Regions from separate parts of the Homo sapiens genome. Here region 1 is linked to region 2. The links are contacts of gene promoters, found by promoter capture Hi-C in human tissues and cell types (Jung and others, 2019). All regions are on one chromosome and are shown on one strand. Each heading gives the region's core, a stretch centred on a gene start or on the middle of the fragment in contact. The rest is flanking DNA. Distances are from core to core; before and after follow the strand shown.

Evidence for each region. The method cuts DNA at HindIII sites, captures the fragments that hold promoters and counts their contacts. A contact is called where the count stands out against the background at its distance.
Region 1: a fragment that was not itself captured here is called in contact with the fragment with the promoter of CCL19 in region 2 in 3 of the 25 tissues and cell types used here (heart left ventricle, hippocampus and mesendoderm cells).

The regions. Positions count from the first base shown.
Region 1 is chr9:34,908,088-34,910,787 of GRCh38, forward strand. It overlaps a transcript of PHF24 not described here. Among named protein-coding and RNA genes, the nearest start is that of SPATA31F3, 14 kb to the left of the region's middle. The HindIII fragment of the contact is 3,933 bases long and covers 1-2,700 here.
Region 2 is chr9:34,689,908-34,692,607 of GRCh38, forward strand. It overlaps CCL19 (C-C motif chemokine ligand 19), which reads right to left and starts at 1,369. Exons shown (of 4, transcript NM_006274.3): 1 at 1,184-1,369; 2 at 303-435; 3 at 23-116. The coding sequence starts at 1,232. It also overlaps a transcript of PHF24 not described here. The HindIII fragment of the contact is 19,341 bases long and covers 1-2,700 here.

The DNA.
Region 1 (2,700 bases), core at 46-2,545, 220 kb after region 2:
GCCTCGGCCTCCCAAAGTGCTGGGATTATAGGCGTGAGCTGCCACACCCGGCCTCTTCACAGTAGTTTTCACCTGCTGTAAGTTTTCTCTTCTAGCTTATGGAACTAATACCATACCCCAGAAACAAATGTTTTGTAATTGAGGAAGGGGCACTTCTTGTTGTAAGGATATTTTAGGCTCCATTTAAGGCTTTTGTCTTCACTGCCACTGCCATAGACAATTCATTGATCCCTCAAATTTAAATTGGGTACATTTGTTTATGTGAAAGGCATTGTTATAGTCAAGACGGAAACAGAAAAAAAAATCCCTCTGGGAGCTTTCATTCTAGTGGAAGGAGAGAGAAAGCAAACAAATAGGAAAATATGTAGTATGTTAGATGGTGATAAGTGCAGTGGAGAAAAATAAAGAAGAGACTAAGTCAAGAGTATAAACAAGATTTGTCATTTTTAATAGGTGGCAAGGGGAGGTCTGAGAAGATGATATTGGAGCAAAGACCAGTAGGAGATAAGGGAGCAACTCATGCATGTCTCTGGGAAAAGGGAACAGGAAACATCTATAGGGAGAAGACAGGTAAAGATCCAATAAGACAGTCCCTCAAGCCAGTACACAAGGGGTTGAGGACTTCAGAAAGCCTCCATAGTATGGTGTCCTTTGGACAGACTTTGTCTCGGGTCACCACTTCAAATCCTTATAAGGACTTCTTTCTCAATCTTATTTTATCTTACCTCATCCTTTTTTTCTTTTCTTTTCTTTTCTTTTTTTTTTTTTTTCTTTTTTTGAGACAGAGTCTCACGTCGTCGCCTGGGCTGGAGTGCAGTGGTGCGATCTTGGCTCACTCCAACCTCCACCTCCCAGGTTCAAGCAATTCTCCTGCCTCAGCCTCCCAAGTAGCTGGGATTACAGGGTGCCTGCCACCATGCCCGGCTAATTTTTTGTATTTTTAGTAGAGATGGGGTTTCACCATGTTGGTCAGGCTGGTCTCAAACTCCTGACCTTGTGGTCCACCTGCCTCAGCCTCCCAAAGCGCTGGGATTACAGGTGAGCCACCATGCCCGGCCCCCTTTTTCTCTTTTTTAAGAGATGGGGTCTCACTATGTTGACTAGGCTGGCCTCGAACTCTCAGGCTCAAGCTTCCTAAACAGCTGGGATTGCAAGAGCACACCGCTATACCTGGCTCTTCCCTTATCTTATCTTTGTGTCTTTGGGGACTAATTTGTTTAGTTTTGTCTGCCCAACTTGGGAGGTTTAGCTAGCCTGTCATCAGTGGCAGCCTGGCCTTTGGCCAAGCTCTGGACAAGCACCATCCTATGGACCATTGACATTTCACGTGTTCTGCCTCATCCCAAACTGAGCCTCATCTAGGCCAAATGCTCAATTCCTGTATGGTTTCTCACTATCACATTATCTTGTATGCTTCTCTGTCTGTCACAATTTTACCAGGGACCGTTTGCAATTGCAGCAAACACTTAAGTGAACTATTTACAGAGACTACTTTGTTCTTTTGAGAGGTACCTTAGAACATAAAGAGAAGAAATCCTTTTTTTTTTTTTTTGAGACGGAGTCTCGCTCTGTCGCCCAGGCTGGAGTGCAGTGGCGCGATCTCGGCTCACTGCAAGCTCCGCCTCCCGGGCTCACGCCATTCTCCTGCCTCAGCCTCCCGAGTAGCTGGGACTACAGGCATCCGCCACCATGCCTGGCTAATTTTTTCTGTTTTTTGGTAGAGACGGGGTTTCACTGTGTTAGCTAGGATGGTCTGGATCTCATCTTCTGACCTCGTGATCTGCCCGCCTTAGCCTCCCAAAGTGCTGGGATTACAGGCGTGAGCCACCGCGCCCAGCCGAAGAAATCCTTTTAAGGAGGTTTTTCATCTTGCCTGATTAAGATGGAGTGATTGTTTTGTTTCATGTAGAAGACACCCCTCCTTCATTTCTGTACTTCAGGAGTTAATAAATGCTGGCTTTTAAATTGTATCACTTATAAAATTGTGGAAGGTCAGAGCTACTGTTTCAACCAGCCATAATAACTCTCTGTTGTATGTCTATATGTGAAAATGGGTTTTCCTGCATCTAAGCTTTCTCTCCTCTCCTTGAAGAAGGAATATAATTAGTCTTCTACAGTATTCATATTTGTCTGAAGCCAGTTTTGCCTCTTTTTTTTTGGCTCACCACTATGCTAATGAGGATCTCCTCTCTTTTGTTCTGTTCCTTTCCCTCCTTTTTTCCCCTCTCTTGGAAAACATTAAAAATTAACTTAGAAATAAAAGTCACTCTGTTATTACGTGCATACTCTAGGAATAACTAGTCCAGATAAGCAGCCAAAAATGTCTAAAAGATCTTGAAAATTTCTAAGAGAGTAGATTTTAAGTGTTCTCGCTACATACATACAAAATAAGTATGTGAGGTAGTACAAATGTTAATTAGCTCAAATTAGCCATTTCATAATGTATATTTCAAAACAACATACATGATAAACATATATAATTTGTATTTGTCAATTAAAATATGTAAGTAAATGTTTTTAAAGTCTAAAATCTTTATTAAACTGTTAGGGTTTCTTTTTGTGAACACTTAAAAGTGTATTTACATAGTAGTCTATGTTACTAAGTTATGAGATAAAAAGAAATAGATTTAAAGACTAAGGGGTTTTGTCATGATTCAGAGTCTCTAACTTTTAGTTTACCCTATAGAAAATAATGGCATA
Region 2 (2,700 bases), core at 119-2,618:
GGCCAGGGAGGGCCAGGCTTGCCTTGGCTGAGGTCCTCTGCAGTCTCTGGATGATGCGTTCTACCCAGGGCTGGTCTGGGGGTGCACAGAGCTGGCGGCCCCTCAGTGTGGTGAACCTGGGGTGAGAGGCCGGAGAGAATGGAGCCCCAGAATCCAGCATGCCTGGGGACCATGTCTGGGAACCTGTTTCAGGGATTTCCTTGAAGGGGTTGGGCTTGGCATGGAGAAGGGGAATAAGAAGGTGGGAGTCTCAACAGGGGCTAAAACGGGAGATGAGGCTAGACACCCTCCCCACAACTCACACTACAGCAGGCACCCTGCAGCCATCCTTGATGAGAAGGTAGTGGAAGTTCCTCACGATGTACCCAGGGATGGGTTTCTGGGTCACAGACAGGCAGCAGTCTTCAGCATCATTGGTGCCACTCAGAGTTGGGGCTGGGATGGGGAAAGAAGGTGACAGGACACAGGGACCCTTGAGGGTGGCATGGCCATGGCCCTAGCTCGGATTGAGGACACCTGTGTGTGTGTGTGTGTGTGTGTGTGTGTGTGTGTGTGTGTGTGTCTGGTGGGGTCGGGGAGGAGTTAGACCTGGTATTCAGCCATTATGCACCAATATGGCTCTGGCTCTACTGGTTGCTAAATATATTGTCATACTTCTAAACTGTTTTGTAAATAACCACTGCCCTGAGCCCCACAAATGACTTCCTGCTGCCCTGATCACCCCAACCTCTCTCCCAGGACAATCCAGCAAGTAAAGAGTTAATGCAGGTCACAGTGTGGGAGGGGCGTGGGGTAGGGTAGGCTGGTGTTAGGAGCCTTATTAATTGCTAAAATTTTTGAATATCAGCCTTGGCTTAGTGTCTGCCATTCTCCCTACCTTAAGCAAATCTCCTTCTGCCTGGGAAACGGAGGCAGCAGGAAATAGAGCTTGCAGAGACAGTCACAGCCATAGGCCCCAGGATGTGCTAAAAGACACACCCGCATTGGGATTCAGGGGCACAGGGACACCCACACTTACAGGCACACATGCAGGGACCTGCCAGGCTCACCGAAATATACAGACCTAAGCATTTGCCTGAACTCACCATGTCCCTTACGTCCAGTGCCAAGCAATCTGAGATCTAGACATTACCCACTGCCAGCCCCCCACTGCCTCTGACCCTGACTCTCCCTTCAGCCTTACCTGGGGAAGTCCAGAGAACCAGCAGGCTGAGGGCCAGTAGCAGGGCCATGGAGGGTGAACAGAGGCAGGCCAACGGTGAATGTGTGAGCGCCAGCTGTCTGGGTGTGTGCAGGATCTGTGTGAGGCTGCAGGGCGACTGGGATGCAGGGGTGAAATGCAAGGTGTGAGTGATGTGAGGCTGGGAATGTGAGCCCTGCAGCTGACTCCTATTTATGGCCAGAGCTTCACTTTCTCTGCCTGAAATTCCCCTTCATGTCCCATTCTGTGATTCCCCTGTTGCCCCCCTCTTTCTGGCAGAATCGCACCCTGCCCCCCTTCTTCCCCCTGCGGTTGCCCTTTCCTTCTGCTTTCCTTGGCTCCTGCTCTGAGAACTTAAGTCTGCAGTCTGGCCCAGTAAAGGGGGCTGTGCACTGTTTCTCCAGAGAGAGGGATTGCCCTGTCATCCCATTGATGGCATTTGCATCATCAACCATGAAGCTGGGGTTCAGAAGTGATGGTCAAAGGTGGGGCCCACAGTGAGGAACTGTGCTCCCTTCCTTAGGTTTATCCCTTGTCCTCACTGGTGCTTCTTTCTTGGGCTGGTGGTGAAGAAGGCTCCCTGGCACCCTCAGGACAACCATGAGATCCTGGGGTGGCCTCCAAGGTCATCACTGTGCCTGCCCACTATGTGGGAACCAGTCCTTCCCTTGGGGCAAGCAGAGCTGAAAGGCCAGGTACCTTGGGAGGAGGCCCAGGACCCCCATCCCACATCTCAGGCCTCTGGGGCTCAGCAAACCCTCCCCTTCCTCTATTTACTGTTTTCCTATGTCCAACACCTGGGTCAAAGGAACAGCTGGAGGGAGACTGGCTTGGAATAGCCCCCTTCATTTTCCCCCTTTTCTCAGTCCTGGGAACCAAGAGGGGATTTCTAAGGAGAGGGGCTGGCCAGCTCATATTCAGACAAATCTTAAAATTTCAAGGAATCGGCCGATGGGGGAGGGGACAAGTGACTTCCCATCCTTATGAGAAAGGTCAGAAGAGAAGGCCTTGAAAGAGAAACTAAATGTGAAACGCCCAGTCACCCGTCGTCACCCAAACCCTAGACCCTCTTTTGGATGGAGAGAGGGAGGGGGAACATTTCCCTCTTAAATTTCTGACTTAGCTTCTTTCCATTCATTAATCATAATAATAGTAATGGTATTTTTGATTGTTTACTATGTGCTAGGCTCTATGTCAAGGACTTTACCACTATTACCTTGCTTAACTTTCCCAAAACAATACCATTGATGTAGTTTTTCTTATTTTCACATTATTATTCTTATTTTACACATAAGGAACATGAGGCTCAGAGCACAAAGCCACACAGCTAGTAAGTACTGGAGCATGATTTGGACCCAGGTGTGCTCTAGGGTTTGCAGTCTTTACCTCCACTCCACACCGCCTGTCTGCCACTTGGTCATGGCACAGCACGGGTAGTCACGGTGCAGAGGAGGGAGACTCTGCAGACAGAGCGCCTAGCTTGGGATTCAGATTCCACC